Regions from separate parts of the Homo sapiens genome. Here regions 1 and 3 are each linked to region 2. Evidence: promoter capture Hi-C in 16 types of primary human blood cells and fetal thymus (Javierre and others, 2016). All regions are on one chromosome and are shown on one strand. The core of a region is centred on a gene start or on the middle of the fragment in contact, and the rest is flanking DNA. Distances in the headings are between cores, read along the strand shown. Region 1 holds the start of KCTD2 (potassium channel tetramerization domain containing 2). Region 2 has its middle 4.6 kb from the start of MIR3678. Region 3 holds the start of JPT1 (Jupiter microtubule associated homolog 1).

The links. Contacts are between HindIII fragments. The CHiCAGO score rates a contact against its expected background, and 5 or more counts as called.
Region 1: a contact is called between the fragment with the promoter of KCTD2 here and a fragment that was not itself captured in region 2, in 1 of 17 cell types (M2 macrophages). The highest score is 6.4, in M2 macrophages.
Region 3: a contact is called between the fragment with the promoter of JPT1 here and a fragment that was not itself captured in region 2, in 1 of 17 cell types (fetal thymus). The highest score is 7.5, in fetal thymus.

What each region holds. Positions count from the first base shown.
Region 1 is chr17:75,044,549-75,048,865 of GRCh38, reverse strand. It overlaps KCTD2 (potassium channel tetramerization domain containing 2), which reads right to left and starts at 1,641. Exons shown (of 6, transcript NM_015353.3): 1 at 1,277-1,641. The coding sequence starts at 1,615. It overlaps ATP5PD (ATP synthase peripheral stalk subunit d), which reads left to right and starts at 1,897. Exons shown (of 6, transcript NM_006356.3): 1 at 1,897-1,941. RefSeq lists enhancers at 1,658-1,952, 1,837-2,422, 2,361-2,430 and a silencer at 1,531-1,960. The HindIII fragment of the contact is 5,200 bases long and covers 1-4,067 here.
Region 2 is chr17:75,408,237-75,413,094 of GRCh38, reverse strand. It overlaps the pseudogene RNU6-938P. Among named protein-coding and RNA genes, the nearest start is that of MIR3678, 4.6 kb to the right of the region's middle. RefSeq lists a silencer at 213-507. The HindIII fragment of the contact is 3,119 bases long and covers 185-3,303 here.
Region 3 is chr17:75,151,642-75,156,404 of GRCh38, reverse strand. JPT1 (Jupiter microtubule associated homolog 1) reads left to right here and starts at 1,893. Exons shown (of 5, transcript NM_016185.4): 1 at 1,893-2,063. The coding sequence starts at 2,008. RefSeq lists an enhancer at 810-1,405 and a silencer at 2,058-2,297. The HindIII fragment of the contact is 22,783 bases long and covers 1-3,235 here.

The sequences.
Region 1 (4,317 bases), core at 392-2,891, 360 kb after region 2:
GTAGCTGTGTAACTGAAATCTTTGCTTGAGATGGACATTCTGACTTTTCCACTGCCTCTGAACTGCATTCCTAATTCCAAGAAAACCTCTGTGTAGTTGGCAATGCTCCTGAGCTCAAGGCCAACATCAGTGGGAGTTTGCACTGCCAGCTGTAATCTCACACACCCCAGCTCTGTGCCCAGAGGAAGCTCGGTACTGCCAGGACTTGGCTCTGAGCAGCTTTAATCCTACTCATCTTTACAGTAAAAGGAACAAGAAGAAACTGGCTTCTATTACCACAAGGAGGATATAGAGTAGATAAAAATAATTCCTTTATAAGCAAGGGTTTTGAAATCTCTTTAAAGTTAGGGCAGGATAGGTTTCCATCAATCTGAGATTTCTTAGAGAAGAGGAATAAACGAAAACAACAAATGTTTACGCAACTCCAGCTCTGTTTTGAGGTCACCAGCTGAGTGCTATATGGGATATAAGATGGTGTGAGTTATGGTCAGTGCCTTTAAGTTGAGAACTTAAAGGTGAATACGTAAAGTTAAAAAGAAATTGACACAGTTCAAACTGGAAATGGTTTAAGTGTCTTGTCACCTCTCAACCCTTTGGTTAGCAGCCATGCATCCTGCCCAAAATTTTCCCGGGAAAATTTTCATTTTCCTTCTGTCTTAGCCTAGATTTGCAGCGGCAAACAGTAACCTCTTTCCAAAAAACGCATTTGATCTAAATATGGACCTAAACCAGTGACTGTTAACAGATAAAAGTTCTGCGACCAGGACTATAGAAAAGCAGTGTGATATCACAAGGAGCGCTTCCTGCAGCTGTGGAAGCCCAACTTGGCAGAGGGGTCCGAGAGGGAGTCTGAGAAAGCTACAAGGATGCCTGAGCTAACCCTGACCCAGTTCTGGATGCATCTGGCACCGGCAGTGGGGGGACTGAAGAGGAGCCAGGGAAAACTCATGCAGATCTCAGTGGGATGTCAGGGGCAGAGAATATGGAGAAGGGGTGTGGAGTGCGTTCTCGTGGGTGCAGGTGGGCGCAGTGTGGGAAGGAGTCTCAGAGAACGAAGGGCGGGGTCGGGGAGAAAGCCAGAGTATGCCTCAGCATGGAAGAAGGGGAGTGGGAGGTCCCTCTGAGGCCCCTGCGAGTAGTGTGGGAGGGAGGGGGAGGATGGGGTCCCGGCCTGAGGGGGCTGCCTGTGAGGAGCGTGTCTCAGGACTCTGGGGACCGATCTACGAGAAACCAGGGGGTTCGAAGGCCCGGGGGCGCGCCCGAGGGCGGGGCACACCTTGTCTGAGTCCAGCTCCGGGTCCTCCTGGCAGCAGAGGCGGCAGAGAAATGACTTGGGCTCCCGGCCTAAGGTCTGTCTGGTGGTCACGAAGTAGGTGCCTCCCACGTTCAGCCTGACCCAGCGGGCCGCGCCGCCGCCCCCTGCCCGCTCGGGTGGTCCGGGACCCGGCTCCAGCGGCTGCGCGACGGCGGCAGCCGGGCGGCCGTGCCCGCGGGGCGTGGGGCCAGCCGGGCGTGGGCTGGGGGGCCCGCGGACTGGGCCACCCCCGTCGCCCACCCCACTCCCGCCGCCCCCTCCCAGCCCCGCCATCGCCGGGTCCAGCTGCAGTTCCGCCATCTTGGACCGCCGCCGCCACCGCTGCTGCCCGCGCGCAGCCGGGCCGGCCCATTTCTCGGCAGGGAGAGCCGGGCCGGCCCATCGGCGGGGGTGGGGCAGAGGGGAGAGGGACGGGAGCGCCCCCAACCAGCGCCCGGGGACCCGCGCGGGGGAGGCGCTGTGCCCGCCCCCGGGAAGATACTTCCGGAACCAGCCCTCATCTCTATTGGCTGATCTGCGAAGCAAGGCCCACCCCCTTGGCTTTGGGGTTGGCTGAGGAAAGATCTTCCCGTGACCCACTTCCGTTACTTGCTGCGGAGGACCGTGGGCAGCCAGGGTCGGTGAAGGTGAGTGGGGCTTGGGGCATTGGATCCGATCCCTGGAGGGCTCCTCTGCTCTGCCCTCTCCAAACCTCACGCCGACCCTTGTCACGCCCCCGTCAAGGACGCTGGGCCCTCGGCTTGCCCCGCTGGCAGAGTGTCCCTTGTGTAGCTGCCGCTCCTCGCCCCGCGATCCCTTCCTCAGCCCTCCTTGGCGCGCGGGGTCAGGGGGGCCCGGCTGTGTCCCAGGCGCCGCTGATGTAGGCGCTGCCACAAGCCGTGTCTCGTGCAGTCCGCTCCCAGCGCGGCAGACTTCAATAGTTTGGTGGGGGGACTGGGGAAACATTACGCAGACAGTGTTAACCTGCCGAGGGACGCTCAGCTGGCTGCGGGGCTGCGCCCTTCCCCTTCGGCAGCTTCCAGGATTCGAACGTATAGAGCGTTCAGGGCTCCTCGGGTGCAGAGTTCGGTTACTCATTCAAGAAAGATTCATTGAGCACCTCCTATGCGCATGATCTGTTCTAGGCGCTGGGGATTAAGCAATAGATTTTTAAGAATTAAAAAAAATTTCGCCGGGCGCGGTGGCTCACGCCTGTAATCCCAGAATTTTAGGAGGCCAAGGCGGGCGAATCGCGAGGTCAGGAGTTCGAGACCAGCCTGGCCAACGTAGTGAAACCCCGCCTCTACTAAAAATACAAAAAATTAGCTGGGCGTGGTGGAAGGCCCCTATAATCCCAGCTGCTCGGGAGGCTGAGGCAGGAGAATCGCTTGAACCCGGGAGGCGGAGGTTGCAGTGAGCCGAGACCACGCCACTACACTCCAGCCCAGGCGACAGTGCGAGACTCCGTCTCACTCACACACACACACAAAGTTATTTGTGACTTCCATTTTCCACTGATGTTGCGGGAAATCAGGGACCCCAAACAGAGAGACCGGCTGAAACCATGGCAGAAGAACGTGGATTGTGAAGATTTTATGGACATTTATTAGTTCCCCAAATTAATACTTTTGTAATTTCTTATGCCTGTCTTTACTGCAATCTCTAAACATAAATTGTAGAGATTTCATGGACACTTATCACTTCCCCAGTCAATACTCTTCTGATTTCCTATGCCTGTCTTGTCTTTAATCTCTTAATCCTGTCAGTTGAGGATGTATATCGTTCCAGGACCCTGTAATAATTGTGTTAACTACAAAAATTGTACAGCATGTGTGTTTGAGCAATATGAAATGTGGGCACCCTGAAAAAAGAACAGGATAACAGCAATTGTTCAGGGAACAAGAGAGAACCTTAAACTCTGACCGCCGGTGAGCCGGGCAGAACAGAGCCATATTTCTCTTCCTTCAAAAGCAAATGGGAGAAATATCGCTGAATTCTTTTTCTCAGCATGGGATATCCCTGAGAAAGAGAATGCGCACCTAGGGGTAGGTCTCTGAACTGGCCCCCCTGGGGCGTACCTGTCTCTTATGGTTGAGACTGCAGGGGTGAAATAAACTCCAGTCTCCCATAGCGATCCCAGGCTTATTAGGAAAAGGAAATTCCCACCTAATAAATTTTGGTCAGACCGGTTGATCTGAAAACCCTGTCTCCTGATAAGATGTTATCAATGACAATGGTGCCCAAAACTTCATTAGCAATTTTAATTTCGCTCTGGTCCTGTGGTCTTGTGATCTCACCCTGCCTCCACTTGCCTTGTGATATTCTATTACCCTGTTAAGTACTTGATGTCTGTCACCCACACCTATTCGTATACTCCCTCCCCTTTTGAAACTCCCTAATAAAAACTTGCTGGTTTTTGTGGCTTGTGGGGCATCACGGATCCTACCAACGTGTGATGTCTCCCCCGGACGCCCAGCTTTAAAATTTCTCTCTTTTGTACTCTGTCAAGCCAGTCGACGCTTAGGAAAATAGAAAAGAACCTATGTGACTATCGGGGCAAGTTCCCCGATACACTGATGTTTGGGAAAGTCTGTAAGGGTGCTTGGTTCCCTGGTAACTTTAAAATCACATGCCAATTGCCTTAACACCTCCCCTCCACAACAGGAAACAGGCTGTCCTGAGAAAGAAAGGAAGGACAGGACAGGTGTTTGACAACTTTCTTGAAGATCCTGAGAAAGACTGCTTCCGCCTCCCTTGCATTCCACTCCAAGCTTATAGAGATTTTTGACTTTGCAGTCTTTTAATATCTGACCCTGATCTTACTTAAAGAGGACTATTTTCCTATATTCTGACTTTTTTTTTAAGTGGCTGTAGTCGTTTTCTGTATTTTTCTCACATTTTCACATGTGTTGAATACCTCTTAAAATGCAGGCCGGGCGCGGTGGCTCATGCCTGTAATTCCAGCACTTTGCAAGGCTGAGGTGGGTGGATCACCTGAGGTCTGGAGTTTCAGCCCATCCTGG
Region 2 (4,858 bases), core at 495-2,994:
ATCAGAGGGAACACTGGAAGCCTGAGAGGAGTACACAGCCTTGGATCACAACTTAAGTGAAGGAAATTCTAGATGAGAACTTCCAAGATCAATTGGGCAAGGGAGCATAGAATTTCAAATGCCCAATTTTAGGCTGTCACTGGCTGTTACTGGGTATCTAGTGCTTTCCCCCTAAAGAGAAGCTTGGAAATATGGGCTCAGGATGACCCTGAGAGGGTCTTGAGCCAGGTGCTAAGGGAAAGAGGCTCACTGTCAGGCCGGGTTTGTATCCAAGGTTCGGTCAATTTCAGGGCAATGTCCAGATTTTACCTGCAGGTGGCAGCCCCGTAACTCACAGAAAACAAAGCCTGAAGCCCTTTCCGACGACTAAAAACCCCCAAGGAAAACAGAGACTTTTTTGGTGATTTTGTGCATTGTGAAGCTACTGATGGAGCCGGTCTGTAATTAGCAAGTTTCGCTACAGTGACAACAGGTTTTCATACCAGGGTGTGACTTTTACTTCACAACTTGCCTCTTGTTCCAATTTCTTTCCATTATTTAACACTAGCCATGCACCTATTCAAAACACTGCTGCCTCTAATGTGTTTTTTTCTCAGTGTGGAATGATCTTGGGCAACGTTGTCTCAAGTTTCTGAGTCTGTGTCTGTGAGAAAAAAAAATTTATCAAAAAGGCAATATAACAAATGTTGACTTAAAAAAAAGTCACCCACGAGCCTACCATTTTAACACATATTATTTTTACTTTTAAATGTTCCCTTCCAAATCTGGTTCCCATGCATATACTTTTACATGAACATACTCAATGTCTGTTTTTATCAATGGTGTATTTTAAAAGGAAATACTTAACTTTTTTTTTCCTGTTCTCTTAGGCATCTACTCTTTTCTGAGATCTCACCCACTTCCTTAGCTTTAAATACCACCACAGCACAGAAAAGCAGCTACATTTCAGTCTCTGGTCAGCCTTTATTATTCATCCGTCCATCCATCCATCCATTTATTCACTGCATGCACTGTGCTGGGTACTGGGAATACAAATGTGAAAAGGTGACCCTGTCTGTTTGGGAGCTTGTAGACCACCGAGCGGGGAGGGCTGGGGGACAATGAGTGAATGATTCATGATGCAATGAGATTGGAGGTATGGTGGGAATTTTTTTTTTTTTTTTTTTGAGACAGGGTCTTGCTCTGTTGCCCAGGCTGAATGCAGTGACACGATCATGCCTCACTGTAGCCTCCATCTCCCGGGCTCAGATGATCCTACTACCTCAGCCTCCTGAGTAGCTCCCAACTAGAGGTGTTTGCCACCCTGCCCAGCTAATTTTTGCATTTTTAGTAGAGGTGGGGTTTTACCATGTTGCCCAGGTTGGTCTTGAACTCCTGGACTCAACTGATCCACCCACCTCCACCTCCTAAAGTGAGATGTGAGCCACTGTGCCTGACCTACCATGGAAATTTTGAAGAAGAAAACTGACTTGGGGACCTAGTGGAAGGGTAGAAAGCCAACTGAACAGAGGAAATTGCATGTGTAAAGATATGGACACTCAAAGGATCATGACACCTTCCGGAAACCACAAGTGGGTTAGTATTGGTGGAGTATGTGTTACTGGAGACTGAGAAGGTGGCACTGGCTGGAAGGGCCAGATCTTTAAGAGCCTTGTAAGGGACTTGAGACAGTAGATGATGAATGTCTTAGTTCCAATTGGTTTTCTACTCTGCAGCCAGAGTGACAAAATATTTGGAAGATAAAAATTTGACCATGGCCCACTCCTACTTCAGTATTCCACAGAGTCAAGTCTCAAGTCTTTAGCAATAATGAAAAAGTGGGTGCAGTGGCTCATGCCTGTAACCCCAGCACTTTAGGATGCTGAGGTGGGAGGATCAAGAGTTCAAGACCAGGCTAGCAACAAAGTCAGACTCCTCTTCTCTACAAAAAATAAAAAAATTAGTCTGGGTGCAGTGGCCTATGCCTGTAATCCCAGCACTTTGGGAGGCCGAGGTGTGTGGATCATCTGAGGTCAGGAGTTCGAGAGCAGCCTGGCCAACATGGTGATACCCCCATCTCTACTAAAAATACGAAAATTACCCAGGCGTGGTGGTGCGTGCCTGTAGTCCCAGCTATTGGGGAGGCTGAGGCAGGAGAATTGCTTCAACCTGGGAGGCAGAGGTTGCAGTGAGCCAAGATGGTGCCACTTCACTCCAGCCTGGGTGACAGAGCAAGACTCTGTCTCAAAAAAAAAAAAAAAAAAATTAGTCAGGCATGGTGATGGCGCATGCCTATGATCCCAGCTATGTGGCAGGAGGATTGTTTGAGTTCAGGAGGTTGAGGCTGCAGTGAGTTGTGATCACACCACTGTACTTCAGCCTGGGCAATACAGCAAGACCCTATCTCAAAAAAAGAGAGAGAGAGAGAGAGAGAAAAGCAAAGGCCCTTCACGAGCCTCTTCAGCTGCTTTACCCACATGCCACACATCCTTCCTTGTCCCAGCTATTGGCTTCCTTACATCCTTGCTTACTGTCTGGCCTTCACACTTGCTGTATCATTTCTTCCTCTCAGGCTAACCAGGGTCTCAGCTTAAAGCCCACTTCCTCTGCCTTCCCTCATAGTGGATGAGGTCAGGTCCCCTGCTGTATGCTTCCAAAGCCACCAGCACTATCCTGGTCAAATTCTCAGAGACATGTCTTCCCCTTCAGGCTGCAGACTCTGTGGAGGGTTGTCCTCCTCTCTAGAGAGTAGATGCTCTAGGCTGGGCGTGGTGGCTCACGCTTGTAATCTTAGCACTTTGGGAGGCCAAGGCGGGCAGATTGCCTGAGCCCAGGAGTTTGAGACCAACCTAACCAACATGATGATACCCATCTCTACTAAAAACACAAAAATTTAGCCAAGCGTGGTGGTGCATGACTGTTGTCCCAGGTACTGGGGGGCTGAGGCAGGAGGATCTCTTGCCCAGGAGGTTGAGGCTGCAGTGAGCCCTGATCGTGCCACTGCACTCCAGCCTGGGCAACAGAGTGAGACCCTGTCTCAATACATACATACATACATACATACGTACATACATACATACTTACATAACACAAAAAATTAGCTGGGCATGGCGGCATGTGCCTGTAGTTCTGGCTACTTGGGAGACTCAGATGGGAGAATTACCTGAGCCTGGGAAGTCAAGGCTGCAGTGAGCTGAGGTTGCGCCACTGCACTCCAGCCTGGGTGACAAGAGTGAGACCCTGTCTCAAAAACAAAAAAAAACAAACAAAGAGAATAGATGCTTAGTTAATGTTGGCAAAGAGAATGAATGAGTACATTAAGCTTTTCTTTTATTTATTTATTTATTTTTTTTTTTGAGATGGAGTCTGGTTCTGTCACCCAGGTTGGAGTGCAGTGGCATGATCTTTGCTTACTGCAACCTCCGCCTCCTGGGTTCAAGCAATTCTCCTGCCTCAGCCTCCCGAGTAGCTGGGGTTACAAGCATGTGCCACCACGCCCGGCTAATTTTTGCATTTTTAGTAGAGATGAGGTTTCACCATGTTGGCTAGGCTGGTCTCAAACTCCTGACTTCAAGTGATCCACCTGCCTCAGCCTCCCAAAGTGCTGGGATTATGGGAGAGAACGCTGCGTCCAGCTTGTCAAGCTTTTCAACAGCATACTGAATATTTCCACCTGCATGTCTCCTGGAATGCTGAATTCTGCATTTCCAAAAATGAGTCATCATCATGTTGGGGCTCAGAGAATGATACCCCAAAGTATGCTCCTCTGGCATTCTGAGCACTTTTGAATGAAAGGAAATTGGAAGGACTTACAAGCTGCCTCAGAACCAAGGACTTTTTAAAGTCTTGTTTCACCACCCCACATGCATGCAGGGGCTGTCTGAAAGTTCCCTTAGCTGACTGAGAAACCAAAAGAAATTCAATTGTGTACTTGCTTTGGCAGCACATATACTAAAATTGGAATGATACAGAGATTAGCATAGCCCCTGAGCAAGAAGACATGCAAATCTGTGAAGGGATCCATTAAAAAAGAAAGAAAGAAAAAGAGCAGGTGTGGTGGCTCACGCCTGTGATCCCAGCACTTTGGGAGGCCAAGGCGGGCGGATCACCTGAGGTCGGGAGTTCGAGACCAGCCTGACCAACAGGGAAAAGCCCCATCTCTGCTAAACATACAAAATTAGCCGGGCGTGGTGGTGCATGCCTGTAATGCCAGCTACTCTGGAGGCTGAGGCAGGAGCATCACTTGAACCTGGGAGGTGGAGGTTTCGGTGAGCTGAGATCACGCCATTGCACTCCAGCCTGGACAACAAGAGTGAAACTACATCTCAAAAAAAAAAAAAAGAAAAGAAAAGAAAAAAAATAGATGCGACTGTCTTAAAATTTCCTCCCTAGGACTCTCGTCAAATAACCAGGAAATATTAACTACCAGAGAAGAGAAAAGACTAAAAGTTGTCACCACATCCAAACAGACTTTTCATCTATTCTCCTGAGGACAGCTGAGATTATTTAGGAGACTTTATCTGCATAATAAGACAACCTTTATTTACAGTGAAGTCCTGCACCTCACCTTCCTGAAATTTGTCACAACCTCCAGCTCCCAGAGCTCAGAGGAACTTTGTCCCAGGCATTGTTTGGGCTCATTCCTTTTCCCTAAAAATAGTTGACTACCTTTCAGTATTGCTGACCTCCGCTCATCTCCCTCTCCTCTGCAAAGATGGTGCTCTTTAAGCTTCAGCCACCTGGCTCTTCTCTGAGTCTCATATTCTGTATGGTAACCATGCACACTGCATGTCAGTAAATTTGTATGTGCTTTCTCCTGTTAATCTATTGCCAGTTTATTTCAGCAGACTCAAACTGTCAGAGTGGAAGGGAAAAATTC
Region 3 (4,763 bases), core at 644-3,143, 260 kb after region 2:
AGCTTGCAGTGAACCGAGATTATGCCACCGCACTCCAGCCTGGGCGACAGAGCGAGACTCTGTCTCAAAAAAACGAAAACAACAACAACAAAAAAAGAAAGAATGGGAAGATTGGCTGGGCGTGCGGTGGTTCACACCTGTAATCCCAGCACTTTGGGAAGCCAAGGTGGGTGGATCACGAGGTCAGGAGATTGAGACCATGCTGGCTAACATGGTGAAACTCCATCTCTACTAATAAACTACAAAAAATTAGCCGGGCATGATGGCACGCACCTGTAGTCCTAGCTACTCGGGAGGCTGAGGCAGGAGAATCGCTTGAACCCGGGAGGTGGAGGCTGCAAGTGAGCAGAGATCGCGCCACCACTGCACTCCAGCCTGGGCGACAGAGCAAGACTCTGTCTCAAAAAAAAAAAAAAAAAGCTAAGATTTTGGCTAGATGCGGTGGCTTACACCTGTAATCCCAGCACTTTGGGAGGCCAAGGAGCATGGATCACCTGAGGTCAGGAGTTTGAGACCAGCCTGGCCAATATGGTGAAACGCCGTCTCTACTAAAAATACAAAAATTAGTCAGGGGTGGTGGCGCACGCCTGTAGTTCCAGCTATTACGGAGGCTGAGGCAGGAGAATCGCTTGAACCTGGGAGGTGGAGGTTGCATTGAGCGCCATTGCACTCTAGCCTGGGTGACAAGAGCGAAACTCCACTTCAAAAACAAAAAAAAAAAAGAAAGGAAAAAAAGAAGGGAAGATTCTAACACAAACAAGTGGTGCGCTTCGTGCTGTTGTGGTAAGCACATAAATGCATCATCCGTGCTTTCTAGAACAGAACTTCTCACTGGCTTTTCATGAAAGCCCGGGGGGGGAGGGTGGTTAACCTAGACTGCCCAGAATACAAACTTCCAACTACCTGAAAGGTGGCTTTGCAAAGAGGAATGTGGTTCAATTATTATGGAAATATTGAGACAAGCAAAGACATCTGCCTTGAGGAAATATGCAAGACATGAGAAGGGCCTGCCCTCTTTTGCCCAAGGCTTTCCTATTATGATCTTGTAAACCATCATTCCTGAATCCTCCAAGTGTGTCTGCATTTGTCGCATGGATAGATTTACCCAGACAGGTGGAAGAGTCATGACTTAAGGGTTATAAACAGCTGCAGAGGCCTGAGCTGCTTCCATAGTCTTGGTAGCAGGGAATGAGTCCATTCCTGGTGCCAGGCATTAACCAGCCTTAGAATAGGCCCCCAAATAGGAGCGACTGTAATTTTGGTCCAGTACATGCACCACCCATTACAACTAAACAGTAACATTAAAATGTAAGGAATTTCCAGTCCTTTTAAAAGGGATCATCTTGGTGCGCTCTCTGTTGCTGACTCATTGTGCGGCTGCTTTGAGACTATTAGGTTTCTAAATGGGACACACAGTAGGTATTCAACAGATAAATGTCAACTTGTTGCAGTACTTTTCATCCTTTAAGGAGGATGCCCTTACTATCCCACCATCAGTAAAGCAAATGAGAGAACAGTAACAGTGACAAATCTCCCTTCTGCTTGCCGAGGTTGTAACTCCCCAAGAAAGAGCTTCCCCCTCTGTCAGGTAACGTTTTACAGTGACAGCCAGCACGACTTCCACCCAGCGCGAGGTAGATTCGCCTTCCGTCCAATCATCGCCGAGATTTTGGGGTGGGGGAGGGGAGAGAGTCCCAAGGCCTTCCCAGTCCAGGAAGGGGGCGGGCTTAGGCTGAGCCGTGGCCGCCACAGCCCATCGTAATGCCGCATGGTGCTTGGCACTCCAGAGAGCCAATAGGAATGAAAGAATTCATTTGAATCGGCCAATGCCGGCGGGTTAGGGGGCGGGGGTTGAAAACCCTATAAAGGCGTCGATCGGCCGGACAGGCGGCAGCGGCGGCTCCTGCAGCGGTGGTCGGCTGTTGGGTGTGGAGTTTCCCAGCGCCCCTCGGGTCCGACCCTTTGAGCGTTCTGCTCCGGCGCCAGCCTACCTCGCTCCTCGGCGCCATGACCACAACCACCACCTTCAAGGGAGTCGACCCCAACAGCAGGAATAGCTCCCGGTGAGGCGACCGGGTCGCGCCCGAGCCGCGCGGGGCTGAGGGGCTGGGAGGGCCGCTGCCGGCGGGGCCTCGCGCCGGTCGTTGCGGGTAACGAGCCCCGTGCGCTGTGCTCGCGCCGGGGCGGGTGGCGGGGTTCTGCCGTCGGCGCCGCCTTTGTGCCGCCTGGCGAGCCCTGCGCGCCGGCCCCACCCGGGTCCCTGCTGCTCTCCATTCATTCCTTCCACGGAGTCAGGGGCTGAGGAGGCCGGGGCTGGTCGCCCCTCGGAGCACGGCCGGTTTTCGTTAATCGGAACCTTCGGGGAGGGCTTCGCTTTCTCCTGTGTGCATCCCGGCTGGTGCATCCCCAGGGTGGTGGGCTTGGCCCCCCAGGTGCCCGGGGATCCTTTAGGGCCCCATGCATGGTCAGGTCCTATTGTCCCATTGATGGGCCACGCGCTCCTGTCTCTCCCCCGTGGCATGCGGTTGGTCTCGCTCTCGCGCGCAGCCATTGGATCCGGAGACCGGATCGATCAGGTCCGGCGGGCTCCTTACCCTCGCCGTGCCCCCACTCCTTATTCGGACCTACCTGACAGGTGCATGTGTGGTCGAGCGGGGCTGGTCATCGCGACCCTTCACCCCCCATTGAGGACCCAATCGTTCTTCCCCTCTTCGAAGTGCCTCCCCTCTTCCAAGTGTCTCCCCTTCCTAACAAAGGAAAGACCCCTTCTCCCCATCCCTGCGCTCATTTCTAAGGCGGGGGGCGGGGGCGGGCGCGGGGAACGAGCCAACCCGAGTGGGTTTTCTGCGCTTAAACCTTCGGACCGTGGCCTTTGCATCCTACCTTCGCTTCCTCCTTTGACGTTTGCCCAGTGAGTTCATCCCTGGCCCTGGTTCCCTTGCAGGAGGAGGTTTCTTGTTCTTGGGCGGGGCCGGAGACATCCATTGTCTCTAACGTGGTAGCGCTACCTGGGAAGCGGGGGATTTTTCTTGCCCTTCTTCCCACTGCTTTTTGGGCTTGGGGCACTGGGTACAGTGTTTGGACAGGAACCCTTTTCCAAGTCCTTGCTTAACTTACTTGGTGGAAGGGTTTGGATTCTGTGGAAGGTGTCCACATTGTCTCAGCTAATTGCACACTGTTCTTTAAGGTGGGTTACAGTTATGTCTGGGATCCTCTTCAAGGCTTGGAAGAAGCTTAAATCACTTTTTTGAGCATGTATTTTACATCGATTATGACCTGCATTCATGTGTGGCTACCCTCGGGGTCCTGGCCAAGTGGCACAAAGGGAGCCATTTTGTGGGGCTAAGAAGACACGTGAAATAGCCATATCTCACAGGGGTTAGAGAACTTGGGAACAAAAAGCACGCCTCACTCAGCAATTGAGCCTTAGGAGGAAAGCATGGGAAATGACATTCCTTTACAACTCAATACTTTCAGGTTTACAAGGTCAAAAAGACTAGGTAAGATTAAAAAAATAAATTGGTGATTACTGGGAGGATGGGGTACTTAAGTAGCACAGACCTAGGAAACTGGTCGCTCCCTTTCTGTTTTCTTTCCAATGAGATGATTTCTTCAGAGAACAGGAAGAGATTGAGCCTTGGTTTTTCATTTTGTGTTACGAGGCCAACTTTCTGCCGGTTAGACTTCAGTCGTCGGAATGATAATGTGTAATCTGGGGTTTTATTCTTTGGGGTTGAGTTGATATTAGTGTTTTGTAAAGAATTTCAGTAATTAGGTCAAATGAATCCTCACACTTAGTTTTTCATGTGTACATTTGAAATGTGAGACAAATGAGTTCTGATCCTGTGAAATGAATGTTTAATTCACCTTTCGTCATCAATTTCCCTCCAATATTATGCTCTAGGGACTGTAGTAGCATTGTCATTTTATTGTCTCTCTACCTTCCCTTTTTCTATATTCTCACCTAATTCTCATAAACTTAATTTTGTCCAGTAATGTTCTCCTGGCCCCATAAACTCGTTATAAATTTAGTCTGGTAGGGAATGATCTGCAAAGATATACAGAAACTTCAGGATTTTAAGAGAGAAGAAAGAAAAGGAGCAATTTTTTAAAAATTGCTATTTACAGTACATGGACACATTTTTGTTCAGTCTTAAATATATAATCCTGATTTAGTTGTCGTGTATGATTCTGAAAGAATAGTAGGATCCTAAAACATTGAGATACTTTCTGCCTTATGATCTACATCCTTTGTTTGGGGATATCTCACTATTACAAATGGTCTCTACAACACTGACGTCATCCGAGTTGGTTACTACCTGCTATTGCAGGAGGAACAGAGACCTTTAAAAAGTGGGACTGGTTAGAGTTTTGACTTGCTCTTAAGCTGGTGTTCGGGTACTAGTGTCTTTTTCTTGATTTTTTTTTTTTTTTTGAGACGCAGTTTTGCTCTTTTTGCCCGAGCTGGAGTGCAGTGGCACAATCTCTGCTCACCGCAACCTCTGCTTTCCAGGTTCAAGCGATTCTCCTGCCTCAGCCTCCCGACTAGCCGAGATTACAGGCATGTGCCAAAACGCCTGGCTAATTTTATATTTTTAGTAGAGACGGGTTTTCTCTATGTTGGTCCAGCTGGTCTCGAACTCCTGACCTCAGGTGATCCGCCCGCCTCGGCCTCCCAAAGTGCTGGGATTACAGGCGTGAGCCACTGCGCCCTGCCTTATTTTTTTTAATTAATTTATTTTTTTGAGACAGTCTCACTGTGT